Linked DNA regions of Homo sapiens: region 1 is linked to region 2. Evidence: promoter capture Hi-C in 16 types of primary human blood cells and fetal thymus (Javierre and others, 2016). All regions are on one chromosome and are shown on one strand. Each heading gives the region's core, a stretch centred on a gene start or on the middle of the fragment in contact. The rest is flanking DNA. Distances are from core to core; before and after follow the strand shown. Region 1 overlaps ZNF180 (zinc finger protein 180). Region 2 holds the start of ZNF45 (zinc finger protein 45).

What was found. Contacts are between HindIII fragments. The CHiCAGO score rates a contact against its expected background, and 5 or more counts as called.
Region 1: a contact is called between a fragment that was not itself captured here and the fragment with the promoter of ZNF45 in region 2, in 7 of 17 cell types (neutrophils, naive CD8 T cells, non-activated CD4 T cells and 4 more). The highest score is 9.0, in neutrophils.

Annotation. Positions count from the first base shown.
Region 1 is chr19:44,484,863-44,490,068 of GRCh38, reverse strand. The region is part of intron 2 of ZNF180 (zinc finger protein 180); the gene reads left to right. Among named protein-coding and RNA genes, the nearest start is that of ZNF180, 13 kb to the left of the region's middle. The HindIII fragment of the contact is 7,682 bases long and covers 1-5,206 here.
Region 2 is chr19:43,933,354-43,938,575 of GRCh38, reverse strand. ZNF45 (zinc finger protein 45) reads left to right here and starts at 3,294. Exons shown (of 10, transcript NM_003425.4): 1 at 3,294-3,652; 2 at 3,882-4,150. It overlaps ZNF45-AS1 (ZNF45 antisense RNA 1), which reads right to left. Exons shown (of 3, transcript NR_184050.1): 3 at 2,762-5,222. The HindIII fragment of the contact is 8,828 bases long and covers 1,004-5,222 here.

The DNA.
Region 1 (5,206 bases), core at 1,321-3,820, 550 kb before region 2:
CTTCCTTTCCCTCTTTCCCTTCCCTTCCCTCTTTCTTTCCTGTCTTTTTCTTTCTTTTCTTTTCTTTCTTTCTTGCTTTTTCTTTCTTTCTTTCTTTCTTTTCTTTCTTTCTTTTCCCTCTTTCTTTCCTGTCTTTCTCTCTCTCTTTCTTTCTTTTTCTTTTCTCTCTTTCTTTCTCTCTCTCTCTCTTTCTCTCTCTTTCTTTCTTGTTCTTCTCTTCTCATCTCTTCTCTTCTTTTCTTTCTTTTCTTTCGGTCAAGTTTATTTATTTATTTATTTATTTTTTCCCATTTCTAAATTTTTCTTTTTTTTTTCTTTTTTTCTTTTTTTTTTATTGATCATTCTTGGGTGTTTCTCGCAGAGGGGGATTTGGCAGGGTCATAGGACAATAGTGGAGGGAAGGTCAGCAGATAAACAAGTGAACAAAGGTCTCTGGTTTTCCTAGGCAGAGGACCCTGCGGCCTTCCACAGCGTTTGTGTCCCTGGGTACTTGAGATTAGGGAGTGGTGACGACTCTTAACGAGCATGCTGCCTTCAAGCATCTGTTTAACAAAGCACATCTTGCACCGCCCTTAATCCATTTAACCCTGAGTGGACACAGCACATGTTTCAGAGAGCACAGGGTTGGGGGTAAGATCATAGATCAACAGGATCCCAAGGCAGAAGAATTTTTCTTAGTACAGAACAAAATGAAAAGTCTCCCATGTCTACTTCTTTCTACACAGACACAGCAACCATCCGATTTCTCAATCTTTTCCCCACCTTTCCCCCTTTTCTATTCCACAAAACCGCCATTGTCATCATGGCCCGTTCTCAATGAGCTGTTGGGTACACCTCCCAGACGGGGTGGTGGCCGGGCAGAGGCGCCCCTCACCTCCCAGACGGGGCGGCTGGCCCGGCGGGGGGCTGGCCCCCCCACCTCCCTCCCGGACGGGGCGGCTGGCCGGGCGGGAGGCTGGCCCCCCCACCTCCCTCCCGGACGGGGCGGCTGGCCGGGCGGGGGCTGACCCCCACCTCCCTCCCGGACGGGGTGGCTGCCGGGCGGAGACGCTACTCACTTCCCAGACAGGGTGGCTGCCGGGCGGAGGGGCTCCTCACTTCTCAGACGGGGCGGCTGCCGGGCGGAGGGGCTCCTCACTTCTCAGACGGGGCGGTTGCCAGGCAGAGGGTCTCCTCACTTCTCAGATGGGGCGACCGGGCAGAGATGCTCCTCACCTCCCAGACGGGGTTGCGGCCGGGCAGAGGTGCTCCTCACTTCCTAGATGGGATGGCCGCCGGGCAGAGACGCTCCTCACTTTCCAGACTGGGCAGCCAGGCAGAGGGGCTCCTCACATCCCAGACAATGGGCAGCCAGGCAGAGACGCTCCTCACTTCCCAGACGGGGTGGCAGCTGGGCAGAGGCTGCAATCTTGGCACTTTGGGAGGCCAAGGCAGGCAGCTGGGAGGTGGAGGTTGTAGCGAGCCGAGATCACGCCACTGCACTCCAGCCTGGGCACCATTGAGCACTGAGTGAACGAGACTCCGTCTGCAATCCCAGCACCTTGGGAGGCCGAGGCTGGCGGATCACTCAGGTTAGGAGCTGGAGACCAGCCCGGCCAACACAGCGAAACCCCGTCTCCACCAAAAAAATACGAAAACCAGTCAGGCGTGGCGGCGCACGCCTGCAATCGCGGGCACTCGGCAGGCTGAGGCAGGAGAATCAGGCAGGGAGGTTGCAGTGAGCCGAGATGGCAGCAGTACAGTCCAGCTTCGGCTCGGCATCAGAGGGAGACCGTGGAAAGAGAGGGAGAGGGAGACCGTGGAAAGAGAGGGAGAGGGAGACCGTGGAAAGAGAGGGAGAGGGAGAGGGAGACCGTGGAAAGAGAGGGAGAGGGAGACCGTGGAAAGAGAAGGAGAGGGAGACCGTGGAAAGAGAGGGAGAGGGAGACCGTGGAAAGAGAAGGAGAGGGAGACCGTGGAAAGAGAGGGAGAGGGAGACCGTGGGGAGAGGGAGAGGGAGAGGGCAAGGGCGAGGGCGAGGGCGTCAAGTTTATTTTTAAAAGTAGTCTGGGCACGGTGGCTCACGCCTGTAATCCCAGCACTTTGGGAGGCCAGTGTGGGCAGATCACAAGGTCAAGAGGTCAAGACCATCCTGGCCAACATGGTGAAACCCCATCTCTACAAAAAATACAAAAATTAGCTGGGCGTGGTGATGTGCGCCTGTAGTCCCAGCTACTTAGGAGGCTGAGGCAGGAGAGTCACTTGAACCCCGGAGGTGGAGGTTGCAGTGAGTTGAGATCATGCCACTGCACTCCAGCCTGGGGACAGCGCGAGACTCTGTCTCAAAACCAAAACCAAAACAAACAAACAAACAAAAAAGTAAAAGAATAAGGAATGGCTACTCCATAAGCAGAGCAGCCCCAGGGGCTTCTGGTTGCCCATTTTTATGGTTATTTCTTGATTTTCTGCTAAACAAGGGGTGGATTATTCATGAGTTTTCCAGGACTGGGGTGGGCAATTCCCAGAACTGAGGGTTCCTCTCCTTTTTAGACCATAGAGGGTAACTTCCTGACAAAACTGTCATGGCGCTGAGACCAGCAGTTTGAGACCAGTCTGGGCAACATGACGAGACCCTGTCTTCTACAAAAAATAAAAAGGCAGTTTAACTGTTGTAGTATGTGTGGTAGTAATGCAAGCAACACAACCTCTTGGCTTTCACATTGGGCCTTCTTTACATTGCAGCAGCTCTGGCTCTTTGATACTTATTGTGAACCTCACAACCTACCCAGTAAATATACAGTGGTGTTTTTAGGTTTGGAGAATCCTTTCCTACCTTTAAATACATTAATGCTAGCCATTTTTAATAACCATTCCTACTGTAATAGTAAAATATTTTCTAGATAGATAAGGAGAAAAAATTGACACACTTATACCTTGACCTCTCCACATCAAGTGATCCTCCCATCTTTGCCTCCCAAGTAGCTGGGACTGTAGGCACATACCACCGTGCCTGGCTTATTTATTTATTTATTTATTTATTATTTTTTGAGATGGAGTCTCACTCTCTTGCCCAGGCTGGAGTGAAGTGGCATGGTCTCAGCTTGCTGCAAACTCCAACTTCCGGTTCAGGTGATTCTCATGCCTTAGCCTCCCAAGTAGCTGGGACTACAGGTATACCACACCTAGCTAATTTGTATTTTTTTGTATTTTTAGTAGAGATGGGGTTTCGCCATGTTGACCAGGCTGGTCTCGAACTCCTGAGTTCAGGCAATCTGCCCACCTCGGCCTCCCAAAGTGCTAGAATTACAGGTGTGAGCCACCATGCCCGGCCTATTTTATATATTTTGTATAGACAGGGGAGCCTCACTGTGTTGCTGAGGCTGGGCTCGAACTCCTGGGCTCAAGTGATCCTTCCACCTCAGCCTCCCAAAGCACTGTGATTACAGGTATGAACTGCTGCACCTGGCCACTTTTATTTTCTTTTAGTTTTTGATCCAATGGCTTCTAAAGAAATGAGTTATCAAAAATTAGCAGTAGTTGCTTTTCAGTGTTTGATTTGAGGAGGAGCAAAGTATCCTTGAATGGGCTATCATTTAACAGACTGAATTATTGTATCCTGTAGGAAAAAACCTGAGGACACTACAAAGGAATTGCGTTGTTTCAAGGTGATTTTTAAAGAGGGAAGCACCTTTCCTGGTTTCCAAATATTTAATTAAAATAAGTGGTTTTGAAAAACATGGATGCAGCATTAAAAGAGAGACAGTGAACCTGCTCCTCAGTTCTACCCCTTCAAAGAATAACTCCTTTTAATGCTTTTGAGAACATCTTTCCAGATTTTTCCGTGCATATTTATATTTTATAGAAATCTATTCATCTTCTGTATAATGTTCTTCATTTTTTCACTCAGCAATATATTATAGACATCTTTCTATTATTTATATGTATCGGTACATGCAAATTTATTTCTTCTCTTGGCTGCTAAATAATATTCAGTCATCTGAATAAAGCATAATTTATTTAACCAGGCACTTCCTAGTGGACATTTAGTCTCCCTTCCCATCTTGCTATGATAATGTAACTTGCTAATGAGGTTTCTTGTATATGCATCCTGATGTACTTTATGTTATTTCCTAAGGATAAGTACTTACAAGTAGACTTAATGGATGTTACATTACACTTTTAAAAATATTGCCTTTAAAAAAACAAAAATAAAAGAATGTACATAAAAATGGAATAAACTCTGTACATGAATTAATAATATTGTACCAAAATTTCAATTTCCTGGTTTTGACAATGTACTGTCATTATATATGATATTACCAGGGAAAGCTGAGTGTGGCTCTATTTTTGCTACTTCTTGTGAATCTTTAAGGATTTCAAAATAAAGCAGTATTTGTAAATACAGATATTTAATATATAGCCAATACAGGAGGGTTGTATCAATTTATACTTCTTCTAAGAATATATGAAGCTCTTGGCCAGTGGGCTGCCAGAGCTGGAGTCATTAGCAACAGACTAATGACTGTGACTGTCACAAAAACACCCGACGTGGTCAGGATGTTGGTTATGTACAGGGCTTGAGCAAATAAGTAAATATAAAGAGGAAAATGGGAGCCAGAGAAAGAAAGTATACATAAAGAAAGGAGAAAAGCTAGACAGAATAAAATGTGTTATTGAATTGTAATTGGAGGTATCCATGTGAACTTATGGTCTCTAATATATACAGATAAAGAAACAGATGTTTGATTTTGATGTAAAGAGGCGAGCATCTGTTTGTATATTCACAGCAGTTTCTTCATAGTTGCATGTGCATTTTTCTTTGTCAGTTGAGGCTACCTTTTACTGATTTGGAAGAAGTCTTAATAGTATAGATTCTTATTGATCATGTGGCACCTTTTGCTAGACTTTTTTTTTTTTTTTTTTTTTTTTGAGATGGAGTCTTGCTCTGTTGCCTAGGCTGGAGTACAGTGGCATGATCTTGGATCACTGCAACCTCCACCTCCTGTGTTCAAGTGATTCTCCTGCCTCAGCCTCCCAAGTAGCTGGGACTACAGGTGCGTGTCACCATGCCCGGCCAGTTTTTGTATATTTAGTAGAGACGGGGTTTCACCATGTTGGCCAGGCTGGTCTCAAACTCCTGACCTCAAGTGAACTGCCTGCCTCAGCCTTCCAAAGTATTGGGATTACAGGTGTAAGCCACCGCACCCGGCCTGCTAAACATCTTATG
Region 2 (5,222 bases), core at 2,045-4,544:
CCAATGACATCCAAGGATTAAGTAAGGCTATTTTCTCAAATCTGAATTTGAGTAACATATTTAAATCTCATATAGACACACTTATAGGAGAAACATGTTCAGGGTAGTCGTCTTTAGATTTGCATTGTTTGGGAAAGGAGCAGCCTTTGCTCACAAGAGCACTAATAAAAGGCCACAAGTTTAGGATTATGAGAGAGACCCGAATTCTGCTAAGATGTAGGGATAAATAATTACCAATCATTATTCTGGAGGTCACAAATTTGCAACTTCCCCAATTATCCCTATAAATAACATCGCTATTGCAGAACCTAAGATTGGCCTTTTGCTATGTCTTTTCAGGCTTTTGCATTTTTGATGACCAGACGACCCCACCCAGACCCACAACTCTTGACTCTACCAGTCATGTGACATCCACCCAGAAGAGGTCCACACCCCATGATTGCATCCCCAACCAATTGCATCCCCAACCAATAAACACACCCATTCCCTAGCCCCCTGCCCACCAAACTTATCTTTTAAAAACCCCAGCCTCCAAATTTTCAGGGAGGCTGATTTCAGTAACAGTAAAACTTCTGTCAATGAAAAGACTCAAACTCTGTAAAATATTTGAAGAGATTATTCTGAGCCAAATGCAAGCGTCCATGGCCCAGGACACAGCCCTCAGAAGACCCTGAGAACATATGCCCAAGGTGGTCAGGCCACAGCTAGGCTTTAGACATTTCAGTGGGACATAAGACATCAAGCAATATATGCAAGACATACGTTGGTTTAGTCCAGAAAGGTGTGACAACTGGAAGCAGAGGGGGTTGGGAGTGGAGGGCAGGGTGGGGGGTAGGGGTATGTGAAGTGTGTGGGGCTTCCAGGTTATAGGCAGATTCAAAGATTTTCTGATTGGCAATTGGTTGAAAGAGTTTATCTAAAGTCCTGGAATCAATAGAAAGGAAATGTCTGGGTTAGGATAAGAGATTGTGGAGACCAAGGTTCTTATTACGCAGATGAAGCTTCCAGGTATCAGTCTTCAGAAATAAGAGATCGTAGATTTTTCTCATCAGACTTAAAAAGGTAGCCCAGGCACGGTGGCTCACGGCTGTAATCCCAGTATTTTGGGAGGCCGAGGCAGGCAGGTCACCTGAGGTTGGGAGTTCGAGACCAGCCTGACCAACATGGAGAAACCCTGGCTCTGTTAAAAATACAAAATTAGCCGGGCATTGTGGTGCATGCCTGTAATCCCAGCTACTTGGGAGGCTGAAGCAGGAGAATCGCTTGAACCCAGGACGCGGGGGTTGTGGTGAGCTAAGATTGCACAATTGCACTCCAGCCTGGATGACAAGAGCAAAACTCTTAAAAAAAAAAAAAAGTGTCAGACTCTTAGTTGATTCTCTCCTGGATCAGAAAAAATGGCCTGGAAAAAGGAAAGGAGATTCTCTACAGAATGTAGATTTTTCTCCACAAAGGACAACTTTGCAGGGCTATTTCATGATAGGGCAATGAAACATATTTGGGGTTGAAGTATTTTGATTTCCTTTCTTATCCGTCATGAGGTGTTATGACAGGTTGGAAAGTAAGTCACATTATATAGGGTTAAATTAAAACCCCTCTCATGAGACTTTATGGTTTGGAGGGCTTGACTCCCCAGACCCTTAGATAGGAATTTGAGTAAGAAAAGAAAAAACGGCAGAGTTCAGTCTTCACCCTGGTCTCCCATTTAGCCAGCTCTACGTGTATTAAACTCTTTCTCTATTGCAATTCCTGTCTTGATAAATTGGCTCTCTCTGGGCAGTGGGCAAGATGAGTCCATTGGGTGATTACATTTCTCTCTTCCTCTTACTAAAGTAGAGAGAGTACTTATCCAGATTTTGAAATGGCATTGATGCAGGGCAGTTTCTTGGCTTTGCTCAGGAAAGAATTCAACAGCAAGCCAGCAGCGGAAGAAAGCAGGTTTATCGAATCAACAGTGTTAAAAGCTCAGTGACTGTTCCTTGCAGACCAAGACTAGCCCACAGGCAGTGTGCCCAGAGTAGCAGCATATGGGCTGTTGGCTGGGTATATTTATACCAACTTTTCATTACATGCAAATTAAGGGGTGAGTTACTCGGAAATCTCTAGAAAAGGGGTTGGTAACTTCCAGGTGTTGCCATGGCATTTATAAACCGTCACGGCGCTGGTGGGAGTGTCTTATACTGATAGGTAGCAAAGGGAACTTACAGGTTGCTTTCCATCACTTGCTGGTTTCAGCAGGTTTCTTATCTGATCTTGGAATCACGCCCTGCTGGTCTCCTGCCTCAGCCTAAATTGAACATTGTTCAGATGTTTACAGCTACTCCTATGTAGTCAACTTCCATTTTTTCTTCTTTACCCTTTCATAATAAACTTGGAAAAATATTTAGTTTCTACCTAGGAGAAAAGTGAATAGTATAGCTTTCTGTATTTTTTGCACTTCATGTCTTAATCCCTCACTTCACCTCCCTCTCCTTACTGAATATTCATAGACACTTTGGCAAATCATAAGACACCTTTACAGATTCCTGATTCTGAGAGCAAGAAGTGATGTGATTCCTTAATCTGAACTGAATGTTTTCAAGATTTTATATAGGATAGAGCCTATTCAATACTATAATACTTTCTTCAGTATCCTGCGAATGAAAGAAAACTAAGCGCAAGAAAAGTGGAGAATTTTGCTGCTTTTGTTTCATGTCCTGCTGGATGATTGCATCTCCTTTTTTGAGCATTTTTAATCACAGATGAATCCATACCCATATTATAAAAGGCTTGTTGCTCTGGGCGGCTCTGGCCACCTCTTTTATTACCTCTGTTTTTAGCTCACACATAGCATTCCTTTGTATTTTCCTTTTTTTTTTTCATATTCGCAACTTCTGTCACGTATAAAAGGGAACAATGGCAAAAGGAAAAAGCAGGCTGAGCTCTACAAGCAATGACTTAGACTCCCCCCGCTAATTCAAAAGGAAAATTGCAGGCTGGCGGGAAGCTCAGCCCTACAGAGGATTCTGGGACGTGTGGTCCAGACTTTTGGGGGCACTTCAGCTCTGGGAAAGCGCGGCTTTGTTATTTGCTCCCCTGGGGAAATAGGAACCTATACCCCAGTGCTCAGTGGGTTCGGTGGTACTTCGACTATTTGAGGACGAGAACACGAAGCCCGCTCCCCTTGGGGATTCTGAGAAATAAGATTCGGCCGTGGGAGTCGAAGCCCGCACTTCCGCCCAGGGGGCGGGGCAGCGGCTTCCGTTCCTCCCGGGGATGCTGGGAAATGTAGTTCCAGAGCTCCCTGCTCTCCCGGGCACTTCCGCGGCAAGAGGTTGAGAGCGCGGCCTTCATTCCTCTCGTGGAAGTGAGTGAGTCCTGGGACCCCGCGACCTGTTTTAACTTTTATGGTTTGGTCGTAGGATCAGCAGGGCTCGCACTTCGGTCAGCAGGAAAAGACGCTGCGGCGAGCAGCGGAGGGCGGAGTTGAATGGCTGGGCAGCTGATTGCCTTACTGTATCCGGAGCTGCTGCGTTCGGGGCGGTTCGGGAGTCCCCTGGTTGGAAGTGGACCTGAATGGGGAGGCGTCTGAGGATCTCCTGGGCTCTCAGCGGCCCGACCCGCCTTCCCCCACCTCCCACAGCTCTGTAGCTTCCTAGCGGTGTAACGTTGGGTGAGAACTTAATCTTTCGGTGCTTAGTTTCTGGTCTTAGTTTCCTCTTCTGCAAAAGGAAATATTAACCTTATATATTTGTTTTGACAATTAGTAATATAGTACAAGTAAAATGTGTATGGAATAGTACAGGAATGTGGCAACATGTCGGCCGTTAATATTAAAACTATCATAATAAAAAATATTCATTTTTCAGCAAGCGCCTGGCTCTTCTTTCTGATTCCTGCAGGAAAGGAGGCTGTTCTTGGACTATGCCTGACCCGTTTTTTAAGAAAGAGTGCATCACTCAACAGGTGGCGTCTGGAGTTATCCTCTGTGGATTTTCCAGGATCTCAGACAAGATCGTGCAATCTCCCAGCCTCCTTTCCTTCCCCTGCCCTGACTTCTGAAAGAATGCTGCGGGAGAGGAGGAAGGAGAGCATCCTGGCTTCTGGCAGCAGAGCCCCACTGTGACAGGACCTAGCATTCACCTTCCTCTTCTGTTCCGAGTGCGAGAAGGTATTTCATTCCTTGCAAATGTTTCTGCTACAGAAGTGTTCCGTTATTGTATAATTGGAGAAAATGTGACATGAATATTAGTCACACTAGTTAAACATTGGGTGCTGAGTATCACTCTGAGGGCTTTATAAAAACTAACACACTGAACCTTCACAAAGGCCTTGTGTTGTGGGTTCTGTTCACCTTACAAAGGTGATGTGGGTATTGTGATATGGGTACTGTTATTACACCAATTATACAGATGAGGAAATGGAGAGAGCCTAATTTACTTTCCTATATCACAGTGCTAGTAAGAACAGTGGGATTTGTGTCCTAGACTTGGGTTCCTTACATCTGAATACCCTTGGTCTCACAGTTTGAAATCCCAATTTAGAATTAGGAAATAAAATAGATAAATGATCCATATAAATAATCATAGGAAACTGGCTGCAGAGGAGCCATTTGAGATCAAGTTGGGGAGGGAGGTTGGAATTTTACTGTAGAAGATTTTGAAAGCAAGGTTGAGTTTAGACTTTAGAAAATTTTGAAAGAATTCTCATTTAATTTTAAGCAATATTAGTAGTTCATATTTTGATCATAGAGATGCACGTTCTCTGTACAGGATGTAGAAAATACAGAAATATAAAATATTACAAATTTCCTTAATACTAGGATATAGATAATTATTAACATTTTAATGCATTTCTGTTTAGCAGTTTTTAATGTGTTTTTGTCTGTGTTTTATGAAATTGTTATCACACTATTCATAGTGGGTTGTTATTCCCTTATTTTTTACTATGGAAATATCCAAACATACCCAAATATAATGAACTCTTATGTACAGTCACCCTGCTTCCATTCTTGCTAATCTTATTGCCTCTCCCACCAACTTTTTTTCCCTTGAGTATTTTAAAACAAACCCAGATGATGAGTCAGTAAGGCTTAAAAACTAATAATTATCATTAATTGTGTTTTTTGTTTTTTGTTTTTTTTGAGATGGAATCTTGCTCTGTTGCCCAGGCTGGAGTGCAGTGGTACGATCTCAGCTCACTGCAACCTCTGCCTCCTGGGTTCAAGCAATTCTCCTGCCTCT